Linked DNA regions of Homo sapiens: regions 2, 3 and 4 are each linked to region 1. Evidence: promoter capture Hi-C in 16 types of primary human blood cells and fetal thymus (Javierre and others, 2016). All regions are on one chromosome and are shown on one strand. Each heading gives the region's core, a stretch centred on a gene start or on the middle of the fragment in contact. The rest is flanking DNA. Distances are from core to core; before and after follow the strand shown. Region 1 holds the start of SEM1 (SEM1 26S proteasome subunit). Region 2 holds the start of DYNC1I1 (dynein cytoplasmic 1 intermediate chain 1). Region 3 overlaps SLC25A13 (solute carrier family 25 member 13). Region 4 overlaps SLC25A13 (solute carrier family 25 member 13).

Region 1 (2,532 bases), core at 23-2,522:
CAAATCCTACTCATCAACCATCAGCCAATAAAGCAGCCTATTTTGAAAACCTAACTGGCAACAGCAATCTCACAAACAGAAGCAGTACAGCTGAAGTTAAGAGCTTTGGTGTCAATCAGGCCAGGTTTCCCAGTTCCAGTTCTATTATTTCTAACTAGTTATGAGACATCAGAAGGTTTCTTAACCATTCCGAGCTTCAGTTTATCTGAAGAATGGCAATACTGAGGCCTACTTCTTATATTTATGAAAGTGGAATATGCTATTACAAGTAAAGCACTTAGACAAGTTCCTGAAAACAACAGCCACTCAATAAATGTTAGCAATTTGCTATTATCTACAATGAAAAAACCAGGTCTTTAGTTTTGAAGCTAAAAAAAAAAATGTGTAAGGTTTAGGTTCTTTTAAAAAAATATTTTATTTTTGTAGGGACAGGGTCTCGCTATGTTGCCCAGGCTGGTCTTGAACTCCTGACCTTATGTGATCCTCCTGCCTCTTCCTCCCAAACTGCTGCGATTACAGGCGTGAGCCACCACACCCGGCAAGTTTTAGGGTCTTATAAAGCATTAAGTTAGGTCACAGTTAAGTGATCAAAATGGTGAGGAACAGGAATGAGGCAATAATGTGTATTAAGCACCCCGTATCTTACCCTCCTATCCTACTTAATGAGGCTTCATTTGTAACATCCTAAAAGTTAAGCAGCATTGGCGTAACTACTGACAATTCAATTCTGGAAAGGTTTAAAGACAAAGAAAGACTGCTAAAACAAAAAGAAAAGGAGGTTATGTAGACTTGAACTAAGTTTAAGTGGTGAGTAACCCAGGTGAACAGTAAATGGACCAACCATCACAGACGCGGGGCTATGGGTCCAGACTCACGGTGGCTCCTCCCAGTGAGGAAGCCGAAGCCATTGGGCCTCACCAGTGAGTCCCAGCGCAACACCCCAAACCCGAATCTGGGGCGCCACTGAGGGGTGAGCGTTAGCGCCTCGAGTGCCGGCCCTGGGAGTCCAAACTTCCCGCCGGTGCCCCCAGCTGGGCCCGAGCACCCAAGCTACCTCCACACGGAGGCCTGAGTCACCGTTCGCGCGACACAGAAACCGGGGCCCAGCGGTTACCTTCGGCAGGGAACTCTTCAAACTCGTCGTCTTCCTCTAACAGACCTAAGTCTACCGGCTGCTTTTTCTCTGACATCTCGACTGTCCGCGCCCAACACCTCCCAGATAAGCAGAAAAGTTGGAACCCTCACTCTTCCTCAAGGAAACGCCACCGTCACTACCGCCTCCGACGCTGACGCTACCATAGAGACTTGGGGAAAGAATACGGGAGCAGCGCGAGGAATGCTGGGATACTGGAGGTCGGCCCAGCGCTTCCTGCGGGGTTAGCGCTTTTTCCGAGTTGTAGAGGTGATTTTTTTTTTTTTTTTTTTTTGGTCTCTACCTTGTTATTCGGACTCTCTGTATTGCCAAAGTTGAGATCCGTGTAGTTTTCCTGACTATAAGAGACTCATAATGTGTAAAACAAACAAACAAAAAAACCCTTAGTTTGCAACCGAGGAAGGAACTCTAGAGAGACTACAGTGTGACTGCAAACATTCATCAGCCCTTCACATACGTTATTACCTCCAGTCCTTAAGCCAGTTCCCTAAAGGTGGTATTAAATGTCTCCACATCACAGAAAATTCAGGTTCGGTAGGAAGCAGCCGAAGTCACTCAGGTAGTTCTAGACAACCGAAATGCAGATTTTTTTGCCTGGCTCCAATCTCCAGACTTTTCCATTAGGCAGTGTTTATAAGGTCTTAGAATTACTTTGTGGTAAAATAGCTTTTTAAATAGAATTTGTGTGGTGTGTATGTGTGTGTAGTAACTCTGGTTTACAGGTTATTATACAGTAATGCTATTTATGGATTTGTGTAACATTTTATGGTGTTCAAAATATATCATTTAGAATTGTTTGAATAGCATTTGAATATCATTTTGAATACAGTAGTGAACTTCATGGAACTCTATATATAATATATGGATGTATATGGATGAATATTATGGAATATACGTACACAAATTGAGTATTATTGTAAATGTTGATACATGTTCCAGATTATATCTATAAATGCCATTCCTTTATTCAACAATGTAAGGTCATACCGCTTACCAGGAGCTGTGCATCAAACATGTATAGACAAGGTCCCTTTCTTCAAGGAGCTTATATGCTGCTCAGAGACATGTAAACAGATAAATCACAATGAAACACAGTAATCCACTTGAATCTGCATCTTAATATTAGTGAGAAATGAACAGAGTGTTTGGGAATACAGAAAATTGAATAACTAAATGTAGAACAAACTTGGCCAAGAACTACAATTAGATGAAATTTTTAAAAAATGTATCTCTTATACTATTTGATTTATATAGATTACTGAAAATAATGGTATCTCACTACCAAAAAAATTATGTCAGGTAATGCATATCTTATTTAGTGTGATTTAGTCATTATACAATGTATTTGTATTTTAAAACATGTGCTCCCAAATATAGGC
Region 2 (2,532 bases), core at 25-2,524, 940 kb before region 1:
ATTTTTCCTTCTGGAATACCTTGAATACCTTCTACCTAGACATTTAACCTCTTCATTTCTAGCCATAGTTACAATCGCAGTAGATTAGCCAGGGAGGCCAAAGTTTTAGAATAAGGATGGCCATTTACAGATGAGTATGTATTCATACTGTATTCATACTAGAATCTGTATTTATTTTGAAATTACTGTAGTACTTGTGAATTAATAAGTTCATAAATATTTACTGAGTACCCATTATATATCAGAATGCTGTTCTAGATACTAAGAATACAGCAGTGAACAAGATAGCGTCCCTGCCCTCCACTAATTTACATTCTAATGTGTAAAAATACACCACAGATGTGCAAGAAATATGATGAAAAGCTCATCTATAAAATGATACCAAACCCCCTAACATCCCAAACTCAATTTTTTGGCCTTATAACTTAGCTGTTGTGGCAAGCTTGTTTTTTGCAGAGTCCAATAATAGTTACCCAGATTTTTTTTTGTTTCCCCGAGACGGAGTTTCGCTCTTGTTGCCCAGGCTTTGAGTGCAGTGGCGGGATCTCGGTTCACCACAACCTCCGCCTCCCGGGTTCAACCATTCTCCTGCCTTAGCCTCCCGAGTAGCTGGGATTACTGGCATGCACCACCACGCCCGGCTAATTTTGTATTTTTAGTAGAGACGGGGTTTTTTCATGTTGGTCAGGCTGGTCCCCCAACTCTCGACCTCAGGTGATCCGCCCTCCTCGGCCTCCCAAAGTGCTTGGATTACAGGCGTGAGCCACCGCGTCTGGCCAGTTACCCAGATTTTTAAAAGCTGGGACTTTAAGAAGCAATGTGAAGACAAGCTACACACACACCACACCACACACACACACACACACACACACACACACACAGACACACACACTTAATTCTTTTTTCTTCTAGAAAAATTGGGATCAATCAGACCTATAAGTCATTGTGTACAACAGGTAGATCTGAGCTTTATTTCTATTTAAATGACCTTAAGAAGTGTAGTTGCCTGGGAGTGAAAGTTGTTCAATGGTGGCATTTCAGCAGGAGCTCCCAGAATATTGAAGCTCTTCTCTTTGCAGCAACTGAGGTCTAAGTCCTACCGACGTTAGAGGGATAGACGAATTGACCTTTCCAGGTCCTCTGCTCGCCACCAGCCTACGGAGCGGCGCCACCCCCTCCTGGCGAGACCGGGCGCGGAAGACGCGGAGCGGAGGCCCTCCCTCAGGAGGGGCGCGGGCGTGGAGGGCGTGGGCAGGGGGCGGGGCGAGCCCCGCAGACTGAGTGCTCCGGGGAGCTGTCAGTGTCAGGCTCTGGGAGAGAGGAAGTGATCGCTCCCGGAGGAGCGCGAGCCGAGCGGCCGGCGCAGCGTGAGACAGCACATCCTGCCCGCGCCGGCCCCGCCACCTTCGGGAGCCGCCTGCACCAACGCTGCCGCCGCCCAGGAGCCGCCGCCGGCTCGGGGAGCCCAGTTCCGCCGCTGCCGAGCGCGTCCAGGTAAACTGGAGCGGGATGTCGCCGCTCCCCGGACGGCCGCCTCCGCACCTCTCCCCAACCCTCCCCACCCCGGTGTCGTCTGCGCTGGGAACCAGGCTGGAGCCGAGGCCCCTGCAGCCGCAGCCGGACCCTTGTCCTGGCCCCCTGCCCAGGCTCCTGCGTGCTCCGCTGAGCCCGAAGGCGGCCAAAGCCCCCCAGTGACACCCCCCTCTCGGCAGAGCCGAGAGACTAGGGCAGAGAAGGAAGGGTCGTGGTGTCACCACCTGGTCGCCCACCTTGTGGGCTGGGAAGGGCGTCCCAGTGCGCCCCGCCTCGGTCTTCCCCGGGGGAGCAGTGGGCGAGCGGCGCTGAAATCTGCACCCCTCTGGGCCACCGGCTGACTGCCCCTGGAGGAGGGGGAAAGCTGCAGAGGGAGGGGAAAGGATGCTGTTTGATTACATTTCGAGCTGTCTGCAAAGCTCTTAGATGCTGTCACTACCCTGCAAGTCGGAGGGAGCGAATTCACTTCCAGCAGGGCATTAATTAAACACTTCAAAGCGAGAAGATGCCAGTTTCTCTCTGCTGCGAAAAAGTGTGGCTGGGGGATGTTGTTTTGGTAAACACCTTCACGGCCGCCTGGCTCTCCTTCCCCCGCTCCCATTCGGAATCGCTCTGGCCTTATAAATCCGTGCGTCGTCATCATAAGGGCAGTGATCCTGGCAGCGCTGATGGGAACTGAGTGTGCGGGAGTCTCATGACTTGTACCTTGGCTAATAAGATTAAACAGAAGCCCAGGATCAGGACAGGAAATTACATAGGAGATCAGAGACTCAACAACATGCAGAAGATGGAATATATTCGCTATTCTGGCCTCTACTAATCCTAGGTAAGGGGCAGGAACAAGTAGCCAGCCATTTTCTTGCTTGGAATGCCTTTCAAGTGGGCATTGTAGACTTATTGTAGTTCAGAGTTGTGAAGAATTGCTTCCAAATATTCCAGATTAGCAAAAAGTATAGCTAACAGTAAGGCATAGGCAACTGCAGGTGACAACCCAACGCC
Region 3 (2,532 bases), core at 11-2,510, 580 kb before region 1:
TGTGGGTGACTTCTACCATATTCTAGGTATGCTTCACCCACAGGTCTCTCTCCTGAATGGGAGGGTCTATGGGCTTTGTGTAACTGGGTGCAAGGGGTTAGGATATGCTGGCAGGGTGTGGACCCTCCGAACTGCTGAAATGTAGGGAACTTCACTTTGGGGGTAGAAGAATTTATTTTAAATCCTTAATTCTTCTTGGGAAAAGCTGCCATCACTTTATTTTTTCCTGCATCTGTGGTAGAAGTCTTGAATTACCTTAAGTCCTGCCCTACTTTCTGTCCATTCCTTACACTTATCCTCTCTAGGGAAGTGGTCTCTTTCTTTAAAATTGAGCTCTGAGCTTTTAACTTGGATACAACTGTCTCCTGAAGCTCCATATGAAAACCAGGAGAGAGCTCCAAGCCTGGCAATCCTGAAGAAAGTATAGTTGCCTAACTCATGTTAATGATTTACCCTAAAACCTCCACCTCCACCCCAGGCATTCTATTCTTCACTCAAAGGTTAACATTCTCCAGTTCAGCCCTTGCATTAGAGGTAGTTTCTCCTGCTGTGTTTTGGACTGGGGCATCTCTCAGTCCAGTTTCAGAGTCAATATGGCTATTTCCTTTCTGCTGAGGGCCAGATTAGCATTTTCTAGTGCCAATAAAGAATTTTTTAAAAATGCATTTCCTGACATTTTAAGGTATTTGGGAAGACAGGAGAGATGGATGAATATGCTCAGTCTATTGTCTTGATTCAATTTCTTCATTACTTTTTTTAAGGGTTTAAGGACTGGTTTTAAACTATTATAACTTAAGCTTTATGTCCACATAATTAACAAATTTGTACCAACAGTAGTTTTCTCATAATACACAATCTAATGTTTGCAAAAGCATCATGATCACACATGTATAACACACTTCCACTTCTGTGTACTGGAACAGCTTTTAAAGGTATTTCTGTATTACAACTTAATCTCAAGCTAATTAATTCAAAGGTGAGACCATCATTACAGTTTGACTTGTTCCTCTATCTTATCACTCTGATAAAAATCATCTGGTATGATAGAGCATTCTATAAAATTTGAGTATTAGATATATTTTATTTGATATCATTCACAAGGTGTATTGAAATGCCCTTCATTAATGATAAAGCACCATGTTAATTATAGATAATTAGAATTTGATTTCTTAATTTCAGGACCCCCGCTTCGGTCTTCACTTTCTGACAAAGCTGATGTACTTTGGCCAATGAACATGAATTCAAATATTGGTTAGTCTTGTTCTATCTTGTGAAATAACGGAGTAGATGTTCCAGTATTTAAATATAGTCCCAGTTTATAACTAGATACATGAACAAAACAAAAACAAAAACACCAAAACCCAACATTCTCTAGGTGAGGATACCAATAACCACTTTTGCTAAAAAGCTACATATTACTAAAACAATCTAACCTCAAGGCTAATCAAATTTTTGGAAAGAAAACAGTGAGATAACATTACTGAATAATTGAAATTATTATCTAAACATAGAAAGCGTGGTCATATTCATTTAATCACAGGTCCATATTATTTATAATAGGCTGATGTTCAGCAAAAAATATTTTATGTATAAGTGATCAATTTAAATATGGTACATATAAAAATAGCCATGAGACATTTTTGTTTTATAAGTTAGAGGCCAACAATTATTCATTGTAGTTGCCTGAAACTCCATCTAAAAAGGAGGATTTTTGTATTTTGAAAGAAGCTTTTCTCCTATTAAATACTTTCTGGGATTCTCTGAATACCATGTATCCTCTCCCTAAGAAATGCCTTTGCTCTTCTTGGCAACCACAAAGGGAATGTGGGGGCCTGATCCGTCCTCCACCCAACAGCCCATTCAGGATTAGTGCACATTTGTGCTTGCTCACTGCCCTTCTTGGGGTTGCACGGGGCACACTTCTGACAAAAGTCTTGCCCTTCTCCACACTGAACTCAGCTCTGCCTGAGCATCTCAGCAAGGTTCCACACTCAGCCCTGCTCACCCCATGACATCACTCCTGCTCACTGGATATAGATTTTTTATGTTTATTTTATAACAAAATGCATTACTAATCTTTTTTCCTAATTCTAATATACTTCTTAGACATTTTAATTTTGATTTTCAGGTAAATAATCATTTATAAATAATGACTGCTTCCTTTCTTCTTTTATTTATGCCTTTTACTTTATTTTACCATGCTGACTGGAACCTCCAAAATATGGCTGAATAACAAAGATGAGAGAGACATCCTTGTCTTATTCCTAACTTTAATTGGAATGGTAACTATGACATTGACCACTGGCTTCTGATATCTGTTATTAAATTAAGAAAGTAGCTTACTTCGCATTACACAGTTTTTATAGTTTTGTAGAATACACAAAGACCATCAAGCTTTGTAGCTTATTCACTCTTTGAAGACTAAAATCAACAGGGCAAACTCGGTATTTTCCCATTTTACCAGAAACGGGGGATCAGGAGGAAGGTGGATAATAATAGGAAAGTCAATGCTCTTTAGGACAAATACCTAAT
Region 4 (2,532 bases), core at 10-2,509, 540 kb before region 1:
TGCACAATTTAACAGATCTTAAAATAGTTTGAGAAGTACTCTTAATAGTATAATAGTTTTAAAAAATGAAAAATATATATGCATCACTGATGTTTCAGGAGAAAAGTTAAAAGATAAATGAAAGCCAAAAATATGTTCTGCAATTAGAATAGCTTAAGAAGGGAGACACACTGACAATAGTGACAAAATAAAAACATACATCTTACAACTTAAAACTGTTTTATAAGGCTTGATTAAAAATCACTTTCAAGTCTTCTAACAAGAATTAATCTAAAACAGTACTCATCATGGAGATAAATTTGGCTGAGCAGACTTTTTCAGCTTAGAAGAAATTCAATATCTAAAAATTCCTCAAGGATTCTCAAAGAACATAAATTACATTAATTAATTAATATAATATTCTCAAAATGGTATGTAGTACAAGAAATTTTAAGAAACAGTCATATCTTTTTGGCAGACATAGGCCAGAGAAGATTAGCTATCTCAAGGTCACATAACAAAATGGTAAAAGAAGAATTTCAGGCTCCAAAGCTACGCAGCCCAACCTAAAGCTAGAGTTTTACTTTCTGGGGCTTTGTGGCCTTAGTGATGCAAATATTTGTATATTCCACAAACGCTTAAACTGAATATCAACCATCTGTCAAATGTGAGCCAAGCACTGGGCAAATAATCTGATAAAGGATCAACTTCAACTAGAACCCAGATCCCTGCACATTTGGCTTTATAGAACACACCCTAACCATGAATCCTATAAAAACAGCAGGTGTAATAGAAAGACATGCTCTGGAGTCAGACAAGTGTGATTTTAAATTCTAGTTCTCCCACTCATGATTTGTGTGAACACAGGTATGCTACTTAAGCCCGATAGGCCTCAGTTTCCTTATCCGTAAACTGTGGATCATGCTTTGCTTGAGATTAAACCAGTAAAACGTAATATACGTCATGTGCCTAATATGGTAGATACTGAAGGGAATTTAGCTGCTACTGCTGTGATGACAACAATGATGGCAGCAACCACCAAAAGTCCTCAAGTTTATTATCACATTTTTGGATGTCCACTGCTAAATGGAGAATAATGAAAAAATGTGTGTGGTGAGTTCCCCTGCTTTCAAATTAGCTAGCACCTCTGAGAAAACAAACCTGCTGTTTCCTATAAGAATACCTGCTAGATTCTTGAGTATGTACAAAATCCCTTAATAAGAAGCACCAACTCAAAAGACTTACTGTAAGTTTTATGGCCTTCTCTGGGGCAACTCCCAATAACTGTGGCAACAGACCTAAAAATCAACAAAAAGTAGAAGTATATTAAATAAATTAGCATTAACTAAACAAATCAACAGTTCTACAGAGGGGATTACCACTTAAAAACTGCTTAATCTCTGCTGCAATTTTCTGCTATTACCCTTAATGAGAATATTTGAAATGGAATGTTTAAGTACTAACTTCTAACAGCCGCATCAGTCCCAAGTACATTCCATCTCACATTCTGGATCGTTTGCACATTGGGTAAATCAACAGTATTAGTGATATAGGAAATCTCATTATTCCCCCAAAGTCTGCTCCTTCCCTTCTGCCTTCTAAATCAGTGGACCACTTGATTTTCTAAAACAAGGACCAATTTTGGGGAAGGCAGTTAGAACATTTAGTGGAGCTACGTATCTGAACTAAAAAATGTCATCATTTTCATTTGTTCTTCTTAAAGAAAAAAAAATTAAATCACAGTTGTTTTTTCTTGGAAACACACACCAAGCTAACCCTGAAGGTAGGAGCATGTTGCACCCTGTGTCATACTGAGAGAGGTTCATGGTAATATTCTTCATTGGAAGTACAATTTTCTAATTTATCTATGTAAGAAAGTCCACTCACAGCCTCTTCTGAGGGACCAGCCCTGCCCACACTCTCTTCCTAAAGGAGCAGCCTGAGAGGTCACTAGCTTGAATGCCATATGTATCCAACCTATAAGTGTGTTTTATTGAGTAACAAAAAGTTTCAAACATAATCTGACCTCCTTGTAAGAAAGATCAATGAGGCCAGGCACGGTGGCTTATGCCTGTAATCCCAACACTTTGGGAGGCTGAGGAGGGTGGATCATCTGAGGTCAGGAGTTCGAGACCAGCCTGACCAACAAGGTGAAACCCTGTCTCTACTAAAAATACAAAAATTAGCTGGGTGTGGTGGCAGGCACCTGTAGTCCCAGCTAGTTGGGAGGCCAAGACAGGAGAATTGCTTGAACCCAGGAGGTGGAGGTTGCAGTGAGCCGAGATTGCACCACTGCACTCCAGCCCGGCAATGGAGCGAGACTCTGCCTCAAAAAAAAAAAAAGATCAATGAACACACTGACCTAACAGTCAGTTCATGGGCTCAGTTCTGACCGAACTCTGACTGACCCCGGGCCTCTTTCTGACATCCCAGCCATCTGCTCTATTGCATGAGGCTCCATCCTTCAGACAGAAACCATGCAAGGTGGTGCCCACCCTGCTTTGAGGCCCGTACCTCAATGAGGACAAGCGCCAGTTTGTATTTTTTTTTTTG

The links. Contacts are between HindIII fragments. The CHiCAGO score rates a contact against its expected background, and 5 or more counts as called.
Region 2: the fragment with the promoter of DYNC1I1 here is called in contact with the fragment with the promoter of SEM1 in region 1 in 3 of 17 cell types (neutrophils, endothelial precursors and megakaryocytes); the score reaches 8.7 in neutrophils.
Region 3: a contact is called between a fragment that was not itself captured here and the fragment with the promoter of SEM1 in region 1, in 1 of 17 cell types (endothelial precursors). The highest score is 6.2, in endothelial precursors.
Region 4: a fragment that was not itself captured here is called in contact with the fragment with the promoter of SEM1 in region 1 in 1 of 17 cell types (endothelial precursors); the score reaches 5.8 in endothelial precursors.

What each region holds. Positions count from the first base shown.
Region 1 is chr7:96,708,574-96,711,105 of GRCh38, forward strand. SEM1 (SEM1 26S proteasome subunit) reads right to left here and starts at 1,273. Exons shown (of 3, transcript NM_006304.2): 1 at 1,115-1,273. The coding sequence starts at 1,190. RefSeq lists enhancers at 1,088-1,287, 1,458-1,547. The HindIII fragment of the contact is 9,533 bases long and covers 1-2,532 here.
Region 2 is chr7:95,771,280-95,773,811 of GRCh38, forward strand. DYNC1I1 (dynein cytoplasmic 1 intermediate chain 1) reads left to right here and starts at 1,275. Exons shown (of 17, transcript NM_001135556.2): 1 at 1,275-1,494. The HindIII fragment of the contact is 2,753 bases long and covers 441-2,532 here.
Region 3 is chr7:96,126,105-96,128,636 of GRCh38, forward strand. All of the region lies in intron 15 of SLC25A13 (solute carrier family 25 member 13), which reads right to left. It also overlaps the pseudogene CYCSP18. Among named protein-coding and RNA genes, the nearest start is that of MIR591, 92 kb to the right of the region's middle. The HindIII fragment of the contact is 931 bases long and covers 796-1,726 here.
Region 4 is chr7:96,170,248-96,172,779 of GRCh38, forward strand. SLC25A13 (solute carrier family 25 member 13) reads right to left here. Exons shown (of 18, transcript NM_014251.3): 12 at 1,225-1,277. Among named protein-coding and RNA genes, the nearest start is that of MIR591, 48 kb to the right of the region's middle. The HindIII fragment of the contact is 3,804 bases long and covers 1-2,532 here.